Linked DNA regions of Homo sapiens: regions 1, 2, 3, 4, 6 and 7 are each linked to region 5. The links are contacts of gene promoters, found by promoter capture Hi-C in blood cells and fetal thymus (Javierre and others, 2016). All regions are on one chromosome and are shown on one strand. The core of a region is centred on a gene start or on the middle of the fragment in contact, and the rest is flanking DNA. Distances in the headings are between cores, read along the strand shown. Region 1 overlaps TMEM131 (transmembrane protein 131). Region 2 overlaps TMEM131 (transmembrane protein 131). Region 3 overlaps TSGA10 (testis specific 10). Region 4 overlaps TMEM131 (transmembrane protein 131). Region 5 holds the start of CNGA3 (cyclic nucleotide gated channel subunit alpha 3). Region 6 has its middle 37 kb from the start of ZAP70. Region 7 overlaps TMEM131 (transmembrane protein 131).

Region 1 (3,269 bases), core at 672-3,171, 510 kb before region 5:
GCCTGGTGAATTATGCAGAAAATGCTGAAACACACAGGGAAAACCTTAAGAAGAGCTCTGAAAACTCAGTTTCCACGGTAGGTGGGCTTGCCCCATAGCTGATAAGGTGGGAAATCTAAGCCACCATCATTTCTCAGGCTGATTGCTAAATCAGATCCCAAGTGGTCTCCTTTGCTTTCTGCCCTTCCATGTCTGTAAGTTCACTCTCCACAAAGTAGCTACAGTGACCTTTTACAACACATAAATCAGATGATGTCACTCTCGTTTAAAATCCTGTAATAATTTCCCATTACACTTAGAATAAAATCTAAATATCTCCCAGAGTTCCAGAGAGCCCTGATAAACAGTGAGCTTGATGGGGTAGGGAACCCCAGTGGTCTGATTCACTGCTGTATTCTCAGTCAGCATAGCAGCTAGCATACAGTTGATGTTCATTAAATATTTATTGAATGGGTGAATGAAGGCGGGAATAAGAGAAAACTACCAAAACACTGGCAGAGTTTGGGCTTTGGATATTATAAAAGATACACACATAGGTAGGTACAGATGTAGGTACAGATGTATTATATTAACAGATATATAGGTTTTTAACAGAAATAGACTATGCAATTAAAATGATATATTCATAAAGATGTGATTGCTAAGTGACACTGTATAATATACTTTCATGTTTCACATACCTCTTTTTTTTTTTTTTTTTTTTTTTTTGAGACAGTCTCGGTCTGTTGCCCAGGCTGGAGCACAGCGGCGTGATCTTGGCTCACTGCAGCCTCCACCTCTGAGGTTCAGGCAATTCTCCTGCTTCAGCTTGAGTAGCTGGTACTACAGGCACATGCCACCATGCCCAGCTAATTTTTGTATTTTTGGTAGAGACAGGGTTTCGCCATGTTGGCCAGTCTGGTCTTGAATTCCTGACTTCAAGTGATCCACCAGCCTCAGCCTCCCAAAGTGCTGGGATTACAGGCGTGAGGCCACCATGCCTGGCCTATTTTTGCATTTTTTATAGTTGTGTAAGTCACTTCCAAAAAAAAAAAAAAAAAAAAAAGCAGCTCTAACTCAGCTTTCCTATCTAGAAAACTAGGACCACTGCACCATATAGGTATTAAGTAATACATTTATTACATAGCAGTACTAGCATAGTGCCTGACCCAGTAAGAGCAAAAATGTTCACTTACAATATATCCTAAAACTCCTTAGTGAATAAGAAAAAGGACAAACATGGGCCTATTTAATTCCATGTCATAAGTGACCTGAGTACTAGTTCTTCATTCACATTCTTAGGGTTAATTGCCAATTTCATTTTCCTATAATATGTTTATTGAAAAAGATACTTGTTTCAGTCCATTTATTGTACGTAAAAAGTTAGGCTGGTTTGCTTGGGCTAAGTAAAGGCACTTTCCCATCTAGGAGAAATGCTAGGTCAGATATGAAGACAATGCCTGCATCCCGGTCCCACTAGTGAGGAAGGTCACTGCGCATCAGAATGTGGTTACCTGGGAAGACCATCTCTTGCTTCCTCGCTGGGGTTTGTATATTCTTCTCTCTTTGGTCTACTCCACCAGCTGGTGATAAAATCTGGGTATGGCCATCGATGGACAAAGGTCCCTTAAATCTCAAGCCCACATGATCTATATTTCATTTTGTCAGTTCACTGAAGTTAAGTTTCTGGCATCAGCACAAATTATAATAAAAATGTCCTATTTTCCTATATAATGATTACACATGTATATATCTTGGGGACCTCATCAGGGAGAGACGTTGTGGGCCAAGGCAAAACTTAGATATCCCTTTTTTTCCTAAAACTATCTAACGGCACCTCAATTCCATATGGCCTAAAAGTTACTTACTCTGTATGTATGTGTGAGGGAGAGAGGGCCTTAGTTTATAATGTGCTGCCTACGGTAACTCAATAACTGCTAGTTAGGGAGCCTGTGACAAGTGTTAACAGCACTTTACCACTACCTACAACATTTTTTTTGCTTATTTTCTTCCCAATTCATCTGACTCTTCTTCCTCTTTCCTGCCCATACCTTAACTCCAACAACCAAATCTGATGAAATCCTTATAACCTGTTTTTCTATACACATGGCCCACAGATTTTAGGATTTATCAGAACAGGCCTTTTATATGACTGTGCCTGTATAAGAAACTCATGAACTTTGGTTCAAACTTACTTTGAAAAGATTGCCCATTTCTCTCTCATCCTTAAAATCCGGGTGGCTGGGGCAGAACAGGTTTCTCACATCACACTTAGAACCAAAGTGTCACCAGGTCATCACCAAATATAATTATTTTAGAATAAGGGTTTAATTATTTTTAACTTTGTCATACATTTAAAAACAAAGAATATATAAATTAGGGGAAAAAAGAAGTAAAAACTTACTGTTATTGGTACATCTTTTGTTCCTGAATTTAATAAATGAAGGTTTAAAACTTTTGGTAGATCTGTTAAAATTGAGGAAAAGAAATATTTCTTAAAAAGGTGCTTTTTAGCCAAGTTAGAATCTTTACCTTATAAGATATCAAATTGAAGCTATCAATTTGTGAAATACAATGACAATAAGATTAATAAAAAGAAACATTAGGTGGTAATTGCTTTACTCATAAGGACATTGTGTATTATAAGAACTGTTCCCTCTTAAACCAGATTTTTGAAAACCCCAAAATATATACTTTTTTTTTTTTTTTTTAAATGAGACAGAATCTTGCTCTGTCACCCAGGCTGGAGTACAGTGGGGCATTCTTGGCTCACTGCAACCTCAGCCTCCTGGGTTCAAGTGATCCTCCTACCTCAGCCTCCTGACTAGCTGGGATTACAGGCATGTACCACCATGCCCAGCAGACTTTTGTATTATTTTTTTAGTAGAGATGGGGTCTCGTCATGTTGGCCAGGCTAGTCTTGAACTCCTGGCCTCAAGTGCCCTGCCTGCCTCCACCTCCCAAAATGCTGGGATTATAGGCATGAGCCATCATGCCCAGCCCCCCAAATATTATTTTTTTGTGAAGTCAGACATTACTAATCTTTTAGCTTTCCAGCAAAACATAATGAAGCAAATTAATAATTTACAATGTAAAAATATACTAACAGCAAATCTAATTTTTAAACATATGGTCTTCAATCTTAACTACATATTATTATATATAGTCCATATACATCCCAAATTACAAGTGCTCTTAGTTTTTCCTTAGCAAAAATCTTTACTTAGTTGTTTTTAATTTCAGAATTTGAGTTTTCTGAACAGCTGCAACAAACTTTCAACATTTTGTCA
Region 2 (3,397 bases), core at 684-3,183, 580 kb before region 5:
CTGCATGCAGGAAGCTAATGTGGCTTCCTGGGGCGTTATCTACCCTTGGTCCTAACTCAGGACTGGCTGCATGCCCAACGCTGTAGCTAAGACTGCCCAGCAGACATTCAGCACTTGCAGACTGAACCTTTGCTATTCCAAGTGCTGACAATGAACTGAGGTCCATTATTTAATAATACGTAACGTGAGGGAGGATCTATCTCAGATAAGGCATAGAAAGAAAGCCCTTAGCTCCAACTTGCTGCTCAGGGCTGGAAGTGCGGTCATTCTGCCTGTGAGTCTCTCCCAGCATCTAGACCACCACCAGTGGGATTCCTGAACATGAAGATTTTGAAAGATCTCACATCTATAACATTAGAGACTCCACTATTCAAAACTGAACAAATTTTTCTCATAGAAATTATGAGGTGACCCAGAGCTAAGTTCCTGGTTACTACAGGGAGTGGGCTAGGATGAATTTTCTTCCTTATTCTTGAACTCAGGGTTAATCTTAAGCAAAAAAATTAAATATATTTTTTATTGATTTATTTAGAGTGACGCTTTCTGAAAGATATTGAGGTAAGCTTAAGATAATAAGCATGTATAAATATATCTTAAGTTTCCAAAGCTCAATAAGTGAGGTAGGAAAACCTGCTGGGAGACAGCAGCTGGAAAGAATGAATCTCTGAGAGAAATGAACTGGGTAGCTGGCCCATGGAAGACAGCATTGTGAGTAGAATACCTATATGGGCTACAAAGGCATTCTTTATGAAGCCACATCTCTAATGCCCACCAAGACCATGTCTGGGACTGGGAGGACCTCCGGAAGGAGCTCAGCTAATGTGGTCCAAGAAGGACCTTTTCCAGCAAAGGCTGAGATGCAGCTCAGAGAGCCCAGTGGCCCCTTTGGAGAAATCTTCCAAGAATCCTCAGGGATCTCTACAGAGCTCCTGGTGACAGCTGTCAGTTCAGGGCTGAGCTGATGGCTAGCTTTTCATTCCAAATCTACAAAGTCTACACAGATGGTGTAAAATGGATGCATCGCCGGCATTTTCCACATTTCAGTGTGCTTTCTGCTCCCAACCCTCAAGTGTGTGATACTACTCAGGACTCCCGGCCCCATCCTCCAAGTTCTTCACGCACCATGTTGCCTTCTGTCCTCCCAGCCCACAGGATACAGTACATTTCAGCTAGGTTCTGGGTCAGAGGCAATCTGCTGTGCTCATTCACAGGAGATTTCAAAGGTGAGAAGAGTTCCAACTTTCCCGATCTAACGGCACCATAACACCCTCATTCCCCAACATCCTCAATGTAAAGTGTGAGCTCATAAATAAACAAATACATTTAAGAAGGCTATTTACAAACATTTTATAAGGTGGTAGGGTCAAAGGACATTTTCTTTTGTTTCGTTGTATTTCACAAGTAGGTATTATATAATAATAAGTAGGTATTATATCTGGAATTAGTAAGAGAGCAAACCAAAAAGCCAAAGGGTTTCCGTTAGCCCAAATAACTAGAATTTTAGGTAGGATAACAAACTGAAGTGAAAAATCCACTGTTTATGGGCCAGATGATGAATGCTACATTATAAAATCTTTTGTATCTCTTCTACTTCTGACTGACAGGGTTATTTAAAAAACCCATCTTCTAAAAAAACCCCAAAGGCTCCCATAGTAGACACCAGCCCTCTGGTGGTGGAGGTGGTGTGGGTGTGATCTATTTTTAAGTGTGCGTGGGTAGCTATTTATACAAAACTAAATTCTGTGCCACTGTAAAAGTAATTGGTTTTTAAGAAGAAAGGTGCCAGACAACTCCTGTTATTTTTGCTGATTCATACTTTCCTAAATTAAGCCAGATGATCTCTATCAAGAATCCTTTTTTAAGGCTTCTGAATAAAATGGGTAACGGCCAACTTAATTGAAGCGATTCATTTTTTTGAGACAGAGTCTCACTCTGTCACCCAGGCTGGAGTGCAGTGGCACGATCTTGGCTCACTGTAACCTCTGCCTCCCAGGCTCAAGCAATTCTCCTGCCTCAGCCTCCTGAGTAGCTGGGATTACAGGTGTGTGCCACCATGCTTGGTTAATTTTTGTATTTTTAACAGAGATGGGGTTTCACGATGTTGGTGAGGCTGGTCTCGAAGTCCTGACCTCCGGTGATCTGCCGTCCTTGGCCTCCCAAAGTGCTGGGATTACAGTGGGATTACAGGTGTGAGCCACCGTGCCCAGACTGAAGTGATTCTTTTTAAAAAGGAAAAACAGGTGGTTCAGATGCCAGGCTTTATTTATTTATTTACTGACAGGGTCTCAGTCTGTTGCTCAGGCTAGAGTGCAGTGGTGCAATCACGGCTCTCTGCAGTCTCTAACTCCTGGGCTCAACTCCTGAGTCTCTAACTCCTGGGCTCTATGCAGTCTCTAACTCCTGCCTCAGCCTCCCTAGTAGTTGGGACTACAGGTGTGTGCCATCACACCTGGCTAATTTAAAAGAAAAACTTTTTGTAAGATAAGGTCTTGCTATATTTTCCAGGCTGATCTTGAACTCCTGGGCTCAAGCAATCCTCCTGCCTTGACCTCCCAAAGTGCTGGGATTATAGATGTGAGCTACCACACCTGGCTTATTTTTATAATATATTTTCCTCCATTTTTTAATAATAATGTTTTTCTTTTTCTTAATATTCTGAGATTTCGTATTCTTTTTATTTTTGCTTTTCACAACGTTACACCTGACTCAAGCCTGGCCTATTTTTATTCCTGTAATACACAGTACACATTTCTGTCTGGGGAGGAGAGAGGCAGAGCTGAGGACACAGCTAGGGACATGACCAGCTGTGGAGCAGGGTTTTCTGAGTGCTGACAGGTCTGGGGCTGGCGTGTGCAGTGTGGTGTTCACAGCCCTTGGGCCTGAGTTGAGAGTGTTATTTAAGCAGATTTTTACAGATAATATGATTAATCTACTTCTTTTGCTTATTTTAGATTATTACATTTATGTAAACATATACTGTTGATAAACAAATAGAAAAACAAAAGGATCAGTGAATACTCAGGGTCCTAAACCAGGGATGCCCTGGGCCCTTCCTGGTTCTGCAGAAACCTTCAGTGCCTGAGATCTGATTCCCATTCCTTGGCATCTCTGCCATAGACTACAGTTTTCCGGAGGTCTGCAGGCCCATTTCTATGTTGCCACAGCTGGAAAACACGGTTAGATCAGATTTCTGTTGCTGCAGCCCCACCCTCCTATTTCCTAGCAAGTGATTTTTTTGAGGTCAACTCTTGGGAGTGTGGATGGATGGGGCTGAGCCACTCCTCTGGCTTTATCACCTCTCACAAAGCTTCCGAAAGACAGCAATGATATATGCCTTATTAATGACATATCTTATTAAAAGATGTGTACCTGTCCTTCAGACATGTGGGGTTATATA
Region 3 (3,295 bases), core at 96-2,595, 670 kb after region 5:
CAAATGTCTTTTAATAAGGTGCTAGGAGTGCTAGAGATCCTAAAGAAAAGAAAAAGAAAGAAAAGAAGCCAAAATCAATGTCCTGGGAAGTCTTCTGTATTTTGTGAATGCAGGTGTTCTTCTAGGTATCCAGTACATGCAATAGGTACAAAAGAAAATATGATGTGGCAAATGCAAACACTAGGTTGCAATATATTGGTCTAAATATGAAAATTCTTCTGGTTTCAAACTGGTTAATTTTTTTTCTCATTTTGTTATATTTCCTAAAGGCAGTATTTTAGATCAGACATTCTATCATACTCAAAACTCTGTTGGAAAGAATCAGTAGAGATCATTAAACTTAAATTTAGATAAGAAAAACATAATAGAAAAAGTACCACCTCTTAGGCAAATCACAGTATTTCTGATCCTTAGGCAAAGTATAGAAGGCAAATTCTCTAAATTCTAGCTTAAAATTTCTACTAAAGTACCAAAAAATTAAGATGTATGACTTTACTTTATATTGCTAAACAACTCACATTTTATTTTCTGCCAAACAAAGGTGTTCTTTAAGAAGCTGAATTTCAGATTCTTTTTCTTGAAGTGCTATCTGAGACTGATATTCTTTGTCTCGATTGGCCACCAGCAAAGCTTCTAGATTCTGCATGGAGATTCTCTCATTTGCCATCTGACTCCTCAGGAGTTCAATTTCAGAATGAGCAGAATCTAACTCATTCTCCCTCTGTTCAATAACAAGAAGATATCTACACTTATTCCCATTAATTCACTTAACTATTATATTATCAGGGACTCACAAAATTTTCATAATCTGTTATAAACTGGCAACTACTTTTAATGTGATTTGAAATTGTGTCCCTCCTTCTTACCAAATAAACACACCACACATGTATGTATAGTATCACTTTCTCCATCTCTCTGATCATATCAGAAAATTCATTAATTTAAGAAAAGGCTTATTAATTTCAAACTGCAACCAGTTTCTACTACCAGCTTTGATATTTCTTTATATACTCCTGCAAGACTGACAGGATGATATCTGTGAGCACTGCTTTGTCCTGAGTTAGGTGAGCTACATGCTTATAGAATGTCATTGGACTCCATAATTAAGGAATATAAGGAGTAATCTCTTATATTCTTATATAAAGAGTAATCTCTTATAGTCTCTTAATATAATTAATAATTATATTTAATAATGTAATTAAATATAATTATAATTAATATAAGGAGTAATCTCTTATATTCTCTTGCATAAACTTGTGGAAAGCTTCCTTTAGAAAATTATCTTGAGCCTTAAAATATGCTCAGTGAGACAAATGTTTTTTAAAAAGGAGGAAGAACAGTCACTAGTATTTAGAAAACAATTATTCCTTATCTTGTAATATACATAACAAATTCTATATGCATTTAAAAGTTAAATTTGAAAAGGTAAGCTTTAAATTCCAGTGAAAAGAAATAAAAATGAAATTACATGGAAGGGAGATAGGTAGGTAGGGAAATTTTCTAAGCTAGATACAATGCAAAAAAAAGTTTCATCACATTAAAAAAATAAACATTTTGATAGTCAATATAAACTTAACCAAAATTTGAAAGGAAACAACTGGAAGACAAATAAACTTAGTAAATCAAATTAATAGCTTATATCTCTACTAACATAAAGAACGCATATAAACTGATGAGAAATATGAGCTAAATGATAATGATCAGAAAATTTACAAAAGGAGAAATACAAGTAAATTATAAACGTATGGGGAAAATTTACCCTTACTAGTAATCAAATAAACTAAAACAAGATGCTATTACTAGTTCAGGGCTTCTTACCTCAACATTACTGATGTTTTGGGTTGGATAATTATTTGGAGTGGGGGCAGCACTATGCATTACAGGATGCTTAGCAGTATCCCTGGCCTCTGCCCAATCAACGCCACCAGCATTCCCCACTCTAGTCATGACCACCAAAAATGTCATTACTAAATGCACACTGGGAGCAAACTCTCTTTCAGCTGAACTGGAAAAACTCTACCAAAGACACTGTTCTAGTCTATCTAGTCTATTCTAGTCTATCGCAAATTTGTTAGTTTGTGTTAATGAACATTACATTGGGCAATGGCAATCTCATATACTTTGCTGGCAGGAGTAGAAAATGGACCGTGATTTTTTTGACAATAGCTTTTTTGAAATATAATTCACATGCCATCAATGATTTTTAGCATATTAACACAGTTGTACAATCGTTACCACAATCTAATGTGAGAACTTTTTCATCATCCCAAAAAGAAACTCAAGGTTGGGCATGGTGGCTAACACTTGTAATCCCAGCACTCTGGGAGGCCAAGGTAGGTGGATTGCTTGAGCTCAGGAGTTTGAGACCAGCCTGGGCAACATGGTGAAACTCCATCGCTACAAAAAATTCAAAAACTTAGCCAGGCATGGTGACATAGGCCTGTAGTCCCAGCTACTCAGCAGGCTGAGGTGGGAAATTGCTTGAGCCCAGAAGTTGAGGATACAGTGAGCCAAGATGGCACCACTGCACTCCAGCCTCGGCCACTGAAGGAGACCCTGTCTCAAAAAAAAAAAAAAAAAAAAAAAAAAAACACCCAACACAGAACGTTCTCTGGCCCTAGGCAACCCCTAAACTATTTTCTACTATTTGCCTTATTCTGGGTATTCCATATAAACGGAAACAAACAATGTGTATGCGGTCTTTTGTGACTGGCTTCCTTTATTAGCACAATGTTTTTAAGAGTTATCGATGTTTTAGCAGGATCAAAACTTCATCACTTTTATTGCCTAATAATATTCCATTGCATAGATAAACCACAGCTCTATTCATGAGTTAAAAATATTTGACTTATTATACTTTGGGACTATTATAAATAATATTGCCATAAAAATTTGTATACAAGTTTTTGTATGGACATGTTTTCATTCCTCTTGAATAGATAGAAGTGACATTTATGAGCTGTAAGGCAATCTAATTTTTAACATTTTGAGGAACTGACAAAATGTTTTACAAAGTTGCCTTACTATTTTACATTTCCACCAGCAATGTATGAGGGTTTCACTTTTTCCACATTTTTGTCAACATTTTTTATCTTCTCTCTGATTACAGCCATCCTAGTGGTTGTGAAATAGTATGGTTTTGATTTGCATTTTTCTATTAATGATGTTCAGCATCTTTTCATGTGTTTATTGGCCATTTATGTATCTTATGTAGAGAAATGTCTATTAATATCCTTTGCCTAATTTTTTAGTTGGGTTATTAAGTTTTTTGTTTTTTGAGACAAGGTCTCATTCT
Region 4 (3,431 bases), core at 81-2,580, 560 kb before region 5:
TATTTGCACGTGAATCTACAAGCATCTCAAAATAAAAAGCTAAAAAACAAGCAAGTGGCCAGATACGATGTGGCTCACACTTGTAATCCCAGCACTTTGGGAGGCTGAGGCAGAGGGATTGCTTGAGCCCAGCATGAACAACATAGGGATACCCTGTCTCTCCAAAAATAAAAATAAAAAAATTAGGCATGGTGGTGCATACCTACAAGTTCCAGCTACTTGGGAGGCTGAGGTGGAAGAATCCCTTAAGTCTGGGAGGCTGCACTGGGCTGAGATCACACCACTGCACTCCAGCCAGTGAGACTCTGTCTTAACAAAACTCCCAAAAACCAAAAACCAAAAACTCTTTATTGACAAAAACATTTGTCTCTGACTGTGGGGTACCTTGGGGCTAACCTCAGTGTGTGGAAGAACACTTAGGCTGCTAAATGTTTAGTGTAGAGAACCACCCACTAGCTATACTTACCCATGGTCACCATAAATGCTGTGCATGTGGGGGTGACTGAGTGTTCATCTGAGAGGCACGGTGTAGGTGAGGAGCTCTCATTCAATGTGAAGATGCTGGGTTTGACGGGGGGCCGACAGAAAGGATCTATGTGAAGAACATTGCCATAGTCTCTGTAACAGAGCCACGATATCCGTTCTACTATTCGATGTCCTCAGATTCAGGCAGGAATTTAATGCCAGCAAACTGTTTTTTCCAGATGAACTCCTATGCCCCCTTTTCCTTCAGAACTATATGACATTTTTCCTCAACCATAACTGCCAGAAAATTTGCAGTTCAACTTAACACTTAATGGTAACAACTAACTTTATTCGAGGTTTCTGCTGATAGTACCGTAACTAAAAAACAGATGAAACACCAAAAACCATTTCTGACTTTTATTCATTGTTTTATATGTGCTATGATAATTTAAACTGCCTCTAATCTGTTTTAAATGTAGGCAAAGTATGAATTATCTATGTAAAAAGCATGTCCTAGACATTTACTTCGTCTTTATCTTCACTACATGCTGTGTAATGAATTTGTCTGAGCTAGGTGCTCTGAATGAATCGTTAGTCTGAGCTAGTTAGTTGCCTCTCTCCCACTTTAAATCATTTCATTTAATTGCCACCCAAAAGAACTATTTCAGGGAAGTTTCAATCACTAGCAAATGGGTTCTCTGAACATATGTGGTCCCACGTTAGGCCCTGTCATATCAGTGACAGCACCTGAGAGGGACATCTCTGGACAACCTCCAGAGAATCACCAACTGTGACCTCCAGAAAGAATTTCCCCAGGCTTCAGGGGTGCTGGCATCACACTTACGGACTTCTTCTTTTCCTGGACCTCCCATTGTCTGGGCCCCAGGCCTTATACAGGTGGACAATCTCTTATCTGTAAATCTGAAATCCAAAAAACTCTCAAAGGTTTTTTTCCCCAAACTCATTTAGAAACAAAACTTAATATGACTATATATTTTTGGTGGCTGCTGATGTTCACCTACTTTTACAGTCTTCTGCATCGTGTGGTGCATGACTACATACCTTTCCAAAATTCTGAATTCTCAAACACACGAGGCACCCAGAGTGTTGCATAAGGACTGTGGACCTCACCTCTAGCTCACTCTGACATCCCATTTCCAAGGCTGCACCTACGAACCTGGTATTGCCCAGAACTGCTTTTCCTCTGAAACCTTACACTCACACCTCCTTTTTAAACCTTAGTCTCCTAACATTCCTTGCTCCCACCATCCTCGAAATTCAATCTGTTGGATTTCCCATCCCTTGACTCATCCATGTTCTCTATCTGTGAGGTTCCTTCTGGCTAAAGGTCCTTCCCCAAGTTGCTAATTCGACACTGCCAGCACAGCACCCCACCGCTCTCCTGCCAGCACTCCTGTGACGTCCTCACTCGCTGTCTTTTTGCTGTCCCTGCCCCACAGAACTCCAGCACTGTCCTACTCCACCAACTACCCAGTTTTCATTCTTCACCACTGGGCTGCAGGGTACAAGTGAGAAAGTGACACAAACCTGAGGCAGTGCCTCAGTGGCCCTCGGCTGGGCCTCCAATGTTGCTGAAGGGGCCAGCGTACAGATCCAAGTTTCCTGCCCCTGCTGACTCCCTGGGCCTACAACATTCTCAGCAACGTGGAATCTGACTATTCCAAACTTTGTCTATTTTGTGTTTCTACCCTACCACTTCCCCCAGCAGTCTCAGAGGATGACTTAGTTCAAGTAAAAACTTCCCTAAACCCACATGCTGCCTCAAGTTGACTCCTCAAGTTCAAGTGAAAACCCGTATCCTGCCTCTCCATCTCTACCAACTCACGCACATCTGCACACCTGCGGACTGTCCATCCTTTTATCATCTACCAAACTGGGTCTCGGCCCACTCCACCACCTGGGCACATGGTTTCACCAATTATCTCCTCATTTTCTTCCCCCTCCCTCTTTTTCTTCGAGGAGGCAGCACAGTGCAGGAGTTAGAATCACACAGACTGGGTCTTGCTCCCATTCTGCCCAGCGCTGCCTTACTGGAAAACCGTAGCAAGCAGTGCCAGTCACCAGGGTGCACGAGAAATTGTGGTCACGTCTGAAACCTTGGCAAGTGTGGATCAGCACCACTGTCTCAGCTCTATAGGCTTTCTGACCTTGGCCCAGAGATATTTTCAAGCACCATGTTTCCATGTATTATTCATTTTTCATAAAAAATATTGCCTTCTTGGTTGTAACTCTCTATATTTTTTAAAAACCTACCATACAATACATGCATACTTTTTTCTTGTTAAAAATTAAATAGGGAAAATACAGGTTAAAGAGTAAAAGCTCCCAAAACACTCACTAGTTAGTGGCCACTACTAACAGTCTGATGTGAAAGTTACTCTAAGCCACAGTGACTTGGTCTCAGTCAGAGGTGATGGCGCTTCACACAAACTGTTCTTTCCAAGGTCACAAATAATGTCCTCAAGTCCAGGCTCCGCGAGCACTCTTCAGCCTCTGCTTTGCCTGGCCCTGCCTGCTGGCATGTGCTAACCACACCTTCCACTGCTTTCTGTTATGCTGTCTGTCATGCTATCTGCTGGCTGCCTTCTCGTTTGGCCTTGCCCTCAGGATTCTCTGCTTGTCCCAATTCTTACCCTTGAGACCAAGTTCCTAACAGATGCTTCTGCTGGGATGCTCCACAGCCACCTTCAACTCAGCAGGCTACAGATGGCATGTGCCACTTCCTGCCCCAATAATAACCATGGCAGTAGTGATATCCTATGATGTGGGGAGTAACTGTTCTCTTCACTTTAAAAATAACAAGTGGAGGCTCAGGGGAGTCATTTTCTCCCAAGTCACACAGTTAGTAAGGGAGCGGAGTCAAGATATAATCTGCACCTGCCTAATGGCAGAACGTGGCCTCAGGACGCCACACCTCTCTGCCTCTCCCTACCCTTGATAAAGCC
Region 5 (3,162 bases), core at 302-2,801:
ACTATTTACTCCAAAATCAGGATTTAAGATTCTTTTGAAACTCTGAAATGTTTCTGGACAACAGAAAATAATCATCTGCTTCCAGTCTTCCCTGAGGACAAGCCAGCAGGAAACAGCTTTAACTTGTTGCATAAATTAATGAGATTAGAAGAAATAAAGCATTTCCTGACAATGAGAACTATAAAAAAAATGCACATAACAACTGAGGCACGTGGAGATTCATAATTGAGGCACGTGGAGATTCCCTGGAATAAGAATACTGAAGTCCTCAATGAGGCAAAGTCTCATCTATTATATTTTCTCTTGAAATTATTATAATTTCAGGTTCCTTTCAGAAGCCCAAGTAATAAAATAAGAATTCTCCTCTCTTCCAACTTCTGTGGCTTTGGCTTCCTTTTGTTGATTCACCACTTCCATTTATTTGCTCTTCCACTACCAGAGTCCCTTGAATCTGAACGACTAAGCCTGATTTTCTTTGGGGGAAAATTTGTCTAGGTTTTACTTCCCCCCTTTAAGACATGACATGTGTGCACACATGCACATGTGTGTGTGAGCCATTCTAATTCTTTATTTCTTCAGTGAAAAACATACACTTCATCTCTCCCTTCAAGTATTGCATGAACTCGATGAACTTAAGCCTTCTAAAGATAATGTGTTCAATTAACAGGCGATTTGATAAGTATGCTAGGAAATGCCATGTACTCCAAGTCCTCAGAGAAGCTCTGGTTAGCTGGCTGCGGTGGGATCTGCTTTTGTGGAGTTTCTTCCCATGAGGGTATCAGTCAAGAGAACCTGGAACCCAAGAGGCTTGTCCCAGGCAAGGAGGCTTGGATTCCTCCCGGGACCTGCTCCTGCGATCCAGAACCAGAGCATGCAATTGCTGGTGAGGGAAAGGCAGGATTCGGTCTTCATCCTTCATGGAGAGGTGTGTTCTTGGAAGTACACCTTCTGGGAGGAAAATGAGTTTTAGTAAATAAAGTTATTTTCTCCAAAAAGAGTTTAAGTTCCTTGGGCTTCAATAGGGGTTAAATAATTACTAGCTGGATTGGTGGTTTTAATTTTTAGTTCAGGAAATCCGATGTTATCTGATGTGATGGAAGGAAACAAAAACTCTGCAAGGAGAATACACATTGTCCCAAAGAGAAACTTGTTTCTAACATCTTCCCTAAGATGGCAAACGGGTCCAAGACTTTGTGCGTGTGTGTGTGTGTGTGTCCCCACCTTTAAACTTCAAACCCCAGATCTCTGTTGCTTACTCATCCAGTGTGGATTACACTACCAGCAAAACATCCCAGGAAGGAGTCCAGGGTGGCCGCCCACAGTTAGGAGAGAACCCAGAACGGAACGACGGACTTGTTTGCTTTCTTGCCCCTGACTCTCCCCGTCCTCCCTGGGAGGGTTGGGGATGTGAACTAATGACTTCTGCCTCTTTCGGACCGCCTTTGAGGCTCCAGAGCCTCACCTTACTTTCCCACGGAGAGGGAGGCCACAGGCTCCTTCAGCAGTCGCCGAGCAGAGTCCTGGGCCGGGAGCGCGGGGGAGGGAGCGAGCGGAACTGCGCCTAGGAGGCCGAGGGAGGAGGCGCTCCGCAGACCCTGGCGCGCCGCGGAGAAGCTCAAACTTTGGCAGGGTAAGGATTTTTAGGGGCTCTTGAGCTGGAATTTTTTGGGGGGCGCCGGGAGGTGTGCTGGGGCCGCAGACCCCATACAGGAGGTAAGTTAGAGAACCACACGCAGGGGAGGGATGCTGCTGCTTCCAGGGGCGGGCGCGGCGCTGTCCGCAGCCCCCGGTGCTGAAACGGGCCGCGGGCTGGAGAGAAAGTGAAAAAGGATCGGCTACGGCCTCGGCTCCCACTCCCCGGCTCCCATACCCCTCCAGTCCAGTTCAAAGGACAGGAAGCCCTCCCCGTGCTCCCCAAGCCGATCGCACCCCCTTTTACTCACGTCCCACAGCCGCGCTGGGCCGAGCCCGCTGAGCCGTCGGGGCGGGAGGCAGAAGGAGCAGGGCTGGCTCCCGCTGGGGACGGGTAGGGCTTGCAGCCGCGACCCCACCCCATACATTTCCTCCTGTCACGCTGTCCCCGGACCGCCAGTCCGGGAAGGACCCACTTCCCCGGCTCCAAGTCGGGAGCGGGCGCCGCGTCTTCTCGAGTCCGCGCCGCGCCGGGGGAGGTTGAGTCAGTGGCCTGGAGGGAGCAGGGCCGGGGGAAGGCAGCGGCGAAGGACTGCCCCCCAACCCAGGGGACTATTTTCCCTTGGGGATTCAAAGAGAAAGGTAGGCTGAGGAGGAGGCGAGAATTAAAATTCTTTTAGGAGTGCGCGGTTACTTTTTTTAATGATAAAATCACACCCGGGATCTCGGACGCCCGGGGCTTAGTGCTCGGTGATGGAGGAGAAGGGGCGGCGGGCTCTCTGATCCTCTGCAATCCCCTAACCGGATAAAGGCGCCGGGCTCCCAGCCGTCAGGCTTTTCTCTTTAGCTCAGCCCGCGGCCCCTCCCGACGCCCCTGGGGGCCTTGGCGCGCAGGCCCTCGCAGTCCCGCAACCCCGGGCCGGGTGATTCATTTTTCTCCCTGTGTAATCTCCCTACTGAGCGGCGCAGCTGGGACTTTAACTTCGGCCCTCTGCAGCGGGGGTCTCCGGTTGGCGCGGCGCGTGAGGGAGGATGAATGGCGCTGGAACCTAGAGGACCTGGAGCCGGCGCCCCGGCCTCTTTGGCCTGAACCAGGTGCCTCTGACACGCAGTCCGCCGGCTCAGGCCTCGCCGGAAGCTGGCGGGAGCAGTCCCTTGCAGCGAAGCCCGGCACCCCGACGGCAGACGCTCCCCATCACATCTTCCAAAGGGGCGAGGCTGGGATCAGCAGGAATGGCACCCACCCGGGTTCAGACTCCATCCCGGAGTGGACAGCTCGGTGCCCCTAACATTATGCACTGTCCGCCACCCCCTCCCCCCAACACATACACACTTTCATTCATGAAAACCAGCAAGAATAGTGCTGTCTGGGCACGGAGTCCAATGTACAGCGTGCGTTCACGCTGAGAATTCATGGGGGACGCGGGTGGTTGGGCCGGGAGAGGAGAGATGGTCACTTGTGTGTGGTATCCACCAACTGGGTCTTCTACGCCAGAGTCCCAGTTGTAGAAAAGTCGGCCAGGTCAGAGG
Region 6 (3,318 bases), core at 638-3,137, 600 kb before region 5:
CCGTGTTAGCCAGGATGGTCTCGATCTCCTGACCTCGGGATCCGCCTGCCTCGGCCTCCCAAAGTGCTAGGATTGCAGGCATGAGGCACCGCGCCCGGCTGACACTTCCTATTTTTACAAAAGGCACAGACTAATAGCACGCATAGTGCGCTGTCTGTGTGGGAAAGGAGGGAGATGGGAGTGCTTTTCCCAAAAGGACGTTTATAGAGCAGGGACAAGGGAATGATGGCAATAGGTCTTTCTAGGCAGCAGCAAGCCCTGCTGGCTTTGGAGTTCCGGGTGGGCAATGACTGTCAGGGGTCAGGTCTGTGAGAGTTGCTAGGAGCATGCATTCTGCAGAAGCGGGAGGGGACTGACGGCAAAGGAATTAAGTTACAGAAGGATCCTGAATGCATGAAAATTTGCAGCCCCACATTGCCTTAACTGGAAAAGGAGGTGGTGCTTTGTGGGCATAGGAATCTGATGCAGCCTCCTCTCCCTGCTGCAAAATATCTGGCTGGGAGGAATGGTCCAAATCCAGTCCCTCTAAGAACCTTGTCCCTGGACATGCTGCCGCAGTTCTGCTGAGAGGCGGGGCTGAGGCAAACGGGAGCCCAGGCTGGCGGTGGACCCAGTGGTGAGGGTGGGAGGGATGAGGGCGTGGGAGGAGGGGCCCCAGGCAGTGGCAAGGAGCTCAGGAGGCTCCAGATTGGTGGCCTCATGCCCCCTGCCAAATGAGTTCCATCCCCATCAGGAAGTTGCCATTTCTAGGGGTTTAACACTGGGAAATGTCTTTGGAATACCACAGTAACAGACAATAGGAAGTGCTACCACTTATTTATTTGGCCTCATGTTTCACACCATCCTCCTGAGGATGTTTGTTTTGCATATAGGGAAACTGAGGCTCTGAGAGGGGCAGAGTGTGCCCAAGGGCCATGATCAGTAAATGGCAGAGCCAGGACTGGAACCCAGGCCACACTCATCCATGCCACTGCACTCATGTGTACACCCAAATGGTCAACGCCCTTCCCCGCAGTGCAGCAGCAACGCACCGCAGTTAAAGCAGCTGGGCTTGTTGCTCCCTGCAGCAAGGGGGACCCAAACAACAGTGAGCTGGGGTGTCTCCTAAGAGGGTGTCAGGAAGTAGCAATTGTAGGATGTGGGCCTTGGTTATTAGCTTATTTGGGGGGTGGGTCTATGGAGTCAGGGGTTTGCTCTGGAGTGGAGGCTGGCTCAAGAGTGTCTAATGAACGCAGTCTATAGTTACACCAGAGTTAACAGTTTTTTCCTGTCTGTTGTAAAGCGAGTTGTTGAATCGCATGATGAAAGAAATGGTGTGCAGTACCATCTAAAACTCTAGACAGGAGATACTAGCCAACCATTTACAGGTAATTACGAGAAACGCAAGGACTGTTAGTCCTCGTAACAGGTCTGCAAGACAAGGGCCTAGAGCGCCTCCAGGTAATGGGCGCATGTTCCAGAAGCCAGCTGGGTTGGCTTTAGAGGTCAAGGCTTTTTCTAATAGTCACAAACTGTCCTGTTCCCCTGTGGTGTTTTTCTAGGTATAAAAAAGGAGTATTTGTTATGGCATGACCTGTCCCTTTGCTGGCTAAGAGGAAAATAAAGCTTATATGACTGTCCTTGATAACTCTAAAGAATGGACTTAGATTAGTCGGTTGGACTTTCAGAGCAGAGTGGTCTCGTTTATGGCTTCAGCTAAAATTACCAACTAGTTTTGAACTCTCTCTCTAGTCGTTTTATTCCTTTGGTGGGAACTGGAGTTTGCAGAGTATGCATGAAGAGCAAATCAAGGATCGCTACTGGAAGGTTTTGGAATCATCTATGATAATTTTACGCTGGATTGCTGGGTATTCTTTCAAAGAATGGATTACTGGAGACGTGGGTGTTGTAAATATCTGAACATATCTAACCACTCTGAATATACATGAGTGTGTGGCAGACCAATATAAGCCTGACATGGGCTAATAAGATGTAGTGTCCCACTGAAGCACAGATCGTATGGGGAGCATATTATTATAATAGCAATAAATTTCGTGTCTTTGTGTGCCTTTTGTACAGAAGCTGTAGATCACGTAGAGGCGGGTGTGTTTTGGATATACTGTATAGTTCATATTTATGTTGAGATAAAGCTGGAAATAAAATGTAATCATGTAGAATCTAAGATGGGATGAAGCTTCAAACTGTATACAGTGGCATGTTATGAATTCATAAGAAGCAACATGGGACCTAGAGGTGGTTGATCGTATAATGCTAATGGTAATTTCTTAAGATGTAGAATTTTGGAGGTTTCTGAGAGGTATGCTATTTTTAAAAAAATTCCATTAGTTCTGTTTTTCTAGAGGACTGGAGAAAACAAGGACAGTGAAATCTCTGGATTAAAGGCACAACTTCAGTGTTTCTTAATAACAGTATGTCTTAGTCCCTTTGTGTTGCTGTAAAGGAACACCTGAGGCTGAGTAATGTGTGAAGAGGTTTATTTGGCTCAGGGTTCTGCAGGCTGTAGAGGCAGCAGCATTGGCTTCTGCTGAGGGCCTTGGGCTGGGTGCACTCCTGGTGGAGGTGAAGGAGAGCCCCGTGCAGACCACACGGTGAGAAAGGGAGGAAGAGGGAGGTGGGGGAAGGTGCCAAGCTCTTTTCAACAACTAGTTCTTGTGGGCACTAAGGGTGAGCACTTAGTCCCATGAGAATGGCACCAAGCCATTCACGAGGGCTCCATCCCCTCCACCAAGCCCCACCTTCCACACTGGGGATCATATTTCAACAAGAGACTCAGCAGGGCCAAACAAACCACAGCATTGGTCTGGAAAAAGGAGTATCTCTGTCATTAGAAGTAAGTGGGGATTTTCCAGGTTGGAAAACAAAATCAAGCACTTTTTGTCACTCTGGCAGGGAAATTTTCAATCCACAGTGAATATAAACAAACAATAACCAGAATGTATTTATAATCCACGGCAGAAGGCATTTGTATGGAGTCTACTTGGAGGGGTCTGAAGGGCCTTCAAGCTCTCCAGTTCCTGCTCACGTCTACATTTAAATGTTTTATCAGGATTTCATTCACAGGGGGATGTTTTGTAACCATTATTGGCAATACCTCTAAAATTACCTGGCTTAATTAATATTGTTGCCAATTTATTTTTACAGCTATCTAATTATGGGTAACATCATGAAGAATTTTTGTTAGATTCCACTATCACCTTTTTTCATGACATCAGCTGGCCCTCCTAAGATGTAAAAGGCATCAGAACTTTCCCCATTTTCTTTTTTCAAACCAGGGGCTTGTTCTGACACTAATAGCAGCCTCTGAATTTCTCAAGACCG
Region 7 (3,358 bases), core at 268-2,767, 530 kb before region 5:
TTAAAGTACAATAGAAAATGAACATGTCACTTCCCATTTATAAAAAGTTGTAATTCTAGAAGTGTTTATGAATTTATAAAGGAATATAAAGAATTCTGTTTCGAGTGTCAAAATACTTTAATAATAGGCCACAATCACTTACATATTACAAACAAATGTCAGAAAGGAAATGGTTCAAATGATTTAAATAATATTTAAAAAATCAGATTTTTGAATCATTAAGTCTTCATTTAAGCCCAAATCCTATCATCCCACTTACCCTTTTCTTCTAAAAAAGTAAAATATAAACAAAATATAGGAGGTTTTCTCTTTTATAGTTGGGGCTGTTCTTTCAAAAAATAATTCCATCAAGTTTATGTGAACGTGGCTAGTATTTCTGCAGGTCATTTAGCAGGAAAATATAATTTACTGATTAGTAAAAAGTAATAGAATTTATTTTAAAAAGAAACTCACCCATCTAAAACTTCTGCTTGATATGGTATTTCAAGTTTAGAATAACTCTTTTCCTTTGCTTTAACTGTTATTTTCCCAGAAAACTGAGATGGCTTTTTTGCCTTCGATGCTGAAAGGAAGCATAAAAAATAATCTCTGTTACCTTTTACTACCAAAGAGAATTAGTGAATTTATGTAAATTGACAAAATCTTAAAAAAAAAAAAAGTTGAGCTTCCAAATTGGCCAACAGAACACTTTTTATAACATTTTAAATGAAACATCACATTTTTCATACAAAAGGGGGAAAATGTTTTATATTTCCTGTAATAAGATAAGCAGATAAGGAATTAGCTGGTGAGCATGGTTCAGGAGGTAAAACACTGTACCTAAGCTGCTTTGCTGTAGCCACAGGCTTTGGCTTTACTTACAGCAGAATTTCTCATCCTTGGCACTGTTAACATTTTAGGCCAGATTAATTCTTCGTTGCGGAGGCTGTTGTGTGTACTGTAGGATGTTTAGCAGCATCCCGGACCTCTACTTGCTAGACGGCAGTAGCATCCCTGCAGCTGTGACTACCAAAATGCCTCTCTGCATTGCCAGATATCCCCTTGGAGGCAAAATTACCCCCCACTTAGCCCTGCTGATTTACACTTGAACTGAGAAAGAAATAACATTTCTTGTATGGCCAAAGTCTTGCTCTATCACCAATAAAGTAGCATGGTATAAGAAAAGTCAAGAATTCAGAGCTCTTCTCAAAAACCAGCCAACCCTAAAACTCATGGTATAAGAGGAGATAAATCCCCTCCTGTCATCATATTATATTGTCCTCATCTTAGATGAAGTAAAAACTTCAGATTTCATAGCAGTTTTGAATAATCCTGGCTGGGTGCAGTGCCTCACATCGGTAATCCCAGCACTTTGCCAGGCTGAGGCAGCCAGATCACCTGAGGTCAGGAGTTCGAGACAAACCTGGCCAACATGGTGAAACCCTGTCTCTACTAAAAACACAAAAACTAGCCAGGTGTGGTGGCACGTGCCTGTAATCTCAGCTAGTTGGCAGGCTGAGGCAGGAGAATCGCTTGAGCCTGGGAGGTGGAGGCTGCAGTGAGCCGAGATTGCGCCATTGCACTCCAGCCTGGGCAACAAAGCGAGACTCTGACCCAAAAAAACAAAAATTAAAAAATAAATAAATAAATAAGGAATTACAGAAATTGATTCAGTTGGGTCCAATCTAGGTACCCATTAGATGGTTCTTTTCAAAGCAAATAAAGAAGCTGTTTATGTTTATCCTCTTAGAGTACTTTAGGAACACTTCCATTTATGTGAAGAATTCATATGTGAGTTCCGCAAATGTGTGTCATCCAACCTCATGACAAAAAAGAACAAGGAAATGGTATGACATCTAGTGTTTGACTATGGCAGACACAGACTTTCCATTTTAAAAATTCCCATTCAGCCTCTTATTTCTCTGCTTGCTAGTTAGCCATCTCTGGATGCTTTCAATTTTTCACTATTTGTTCTGACGTAAGACTGATTACAAGGGCCACATTTAAGCATTTCATGACATTGTATCATACATAGCAAATAAAGTGGTCAAAAAGCTCAAGAAAATTCTGTTGAAAATCATGAAGAATAACTTTTGATGAGAAAGATGCTTGATAAATGAACACTGCAGAGTTAATACATATATAAGGTGCATTCTAACAATATTAAAAGTTAAATAACACACACTTCCTGACTGATTTTCACAGCAATCTCAGAGGTATTTTGTGTGGGGATCCAGCATGGCAGTGGGAGAGGTGAATGGTGGGGGGATTTTCACATGATATTAAAAACCTACTTTTAAGAAATGTAGCATTTGCTCTTAAAGATGCTTTCCCTTTGCTGTTGTTATTTAATTTTACATATTTCTTTAAGAAACAATTATCTTAGAGCCTACGATCTCAGAAGAACCAACACTAATGACATCGCATTTATCTCAAGAAGGGAAAGATTAAGTGGGTGGTCAATACAGGAGCTAGAGAAGAGTAGCTCTTCACCCTTGCAGAGCAGCTCTTCACCCTTGCAGACCATGTGGAGAATTTTCCGGCACATCTGTGAAGGGTGGGTCCTAAATGCTCTTATCCTGGCTGGGTGCAGTGCCTCACGTCGGTAATCCCAGCACTTTGCCAGGCTGAGGCAGCCAGATCACCTGAGGTCAGGAGTTTGAGACCAGCCTGGCCAACATGGTGAAACCCTGTCTCTACTAAAAATACAAAAATTAGCCGCCTCCTCCTCTGTAAGGGAAGACAATGTACCTCGTGATACTGACACTGGTAGGCATGAATGTGGTCTCTCAGCAGCATAGAGAACACTTTACCACAAATGTAGAAATTACTGTGGCATTAATGTCTTCTATAATACTATTTCTTGACAACTGTATCATGAAGTATGCTGCCTATGTGATTTTTATTCCTTGAGAGTCCTCACTGAGCTCACAGGATGAACCCTGAGGCCAGCCCCACCTCCGTAGCTGCTCCAGACCCTCCCTAGAACTCTCCACAGTGAGCAGCAGGCATAGATACTCTCATAAACACTGTGTGAAGTGTGCCAGTGTCCTCCTACATTCATTGATCAAATATTCTCATCCGATGAGGAGCTGAGCTTTACTATGTGGACTCTGAGCACAGATGGCTTTATCATAAAGCCAAAGTTTAAGCTTAATAGCAGCTACTCAGTTGCATGGGTGCCTATGAAAAAAGCCCTGTTCAGAGGTTCAATTCTCATTTAATTATCTGTATGGTTAAGCAGCCATTAAGTCATTATTTTAAAAATGTTGTGACAGCAAATTCAATGAATGTTCCAATTAAAGTAGGCAAAACTAAATAAAAACATGCTATAAAAATGGTATAGTCTGGCTTAACACCTCAAGTATCAAAATGTATA

What was found. Contacts are between HindIII fragments. The CHiCAGO score rates a contact against its expected background, and 5 or more counts as called.
Region 1: a contact is called between a fragment that was not itself captured here and the fragment with the promoter of CNGA3 in region 5, in 5 of 17 cell types (monocytes, M1 macrophages, total B cells and 2 more). The highest score is 8.0, in monocytes.
Region 2: a fragment that was not itself captured here is called in contact with the fragment with the promoter of CNGA3 in region 5 in 10 of 17 cell types (M0 macrophages, monocytes, naive B cells and 7 more); the score reaches 11.7 in M0 macrophages.
Region 3: a fragment that was not itself captured here is called in contact with the fragment with the promoter of CNGA3 in region 5 in 5 of 17 cell types (non-activated CD4 T cells, total CD8 T cells, naive CD8 T cells and 2 more); the score reaches 9.3 in non-activated CD4 T cells.
Region 4: a contact is called between a fragment that was not itself captured here and the fragment with the promoter of CNGA3 in region 5, in 11 of 17 cell types (M0 macrophages, monocytes, M1 macrophages and 8 more). The highest score is 12.0, in M0 macrophages.
Region 6: a contact is called between a fragment that was not itself captured here and the fragment with the promoter of CNGA3 in region 5, in 10 of 17 cell types (monocytes, M2 macrophages, M0 macrophages and 7 more). The highest score is 12.4, in monocytes.
Region 7: a fragment that was not itself captured here is called in contact with the fragment with the promoter of CNGA3 in region 5 in 12 of 17 cell types (M0 macrophages, M1 macrophages, M2 macrophages and 9 more); the score reaches 13.2 in M0 macrophages.

What each region holds. Positions count from the first base shown.
Region 1 is chr2:97,830,982-97,834,250 of GRCh38, forward strand. TMEM131 (transmembrane protein 131) reads right to left here. Exons shown (of 41, transcript NM_015348.2): 11 at 2,384-2,445. Among named protein-coding and RNA genes, the nearest start is that of ZAP70, 120 kb to the left of the region's middle. The HindIII fragment of the contact is 5,024 bases long and covers 1-3,269 here.
Region 2 is chr2:97,766,693-97,770,089 of GRCh38, forward strand. The region is part of intron 33 of TMEM131 (transmembrane protein 131); the gene reads right to left. Among named protein-coding and RNA genes, the nearest start is that of ZAP70, 55 kb to the left of the region's middle. The HindIII fragment of the contact is 2,744 bases long and covers 562-3,305 here.
Region 3 is chr2:99,019,762-99,023,056 of GRCh38, forward strand. It overlaps TSGA10 (testis specific 10), which reads right to left. Exons shown (of 21, transcript NM_025244.4): 18 at 519-721. Among named protein-coding and RNA genes, the nearest start is that of CRACDL, 85 kb to the left of the region's middle. The HindIII fragment of the contact is 166 bases long and covers 1,263-1,428 here.
Region 4 is chr2:97,786,207-97,789,637 of GRCh38, forward strand. All of the region lies in intron 31 of TMEM131 (transmembrane protein 131), which reads right to left. Among named protein-coding and RNA genes, the nearest start is that of ZAP70, 74 kb to the left of the region's middle. The HindIII fragment of the contact is 5,728 bases long and covers 1-3,431 here.
Region 5 is chr2:98,344,905-98,348,066 of GRCh38, forward strand. CNGA3 (cyclic nucleotide gated channel subunit alpha 3) reads left to right here and starts at 1,552. Exons shown (of 8, transcript NM_001298.3): 1 at 1,552-1,630. RefSeq lists an enhancer at 2,052-2,563. The HindIII fragment of the contact is 4,952 bases long and covers 1-3,162 here.
Region 6 is chr2:97,749,209-97,752,526 of GRCh38, forward strand. It overlaps a transcript of ZAP70 not described here. Among named protein-coding and RNA genes, the nearest start is that of ZAP70, 37 kb to the left of the region's middle. The HindIII fragment of the contact is 568 bases long and covers 1,604-2,171 here.
Region 7 is chr2:97,814,746-97,818,103 of GRCh38, forward strand. TMEM131 (transmembrane protein 131) reads right to left here. Exons shown (of 41, transcript NM_015348.2): 13 at 454-562. Among named protein-coding and RNA genes, the nearest start is that of ZAP70, 100 kb to the left of the region's middle. The HindIII fragment of the contact is 3,223 bases long and covers 1-3,129 here.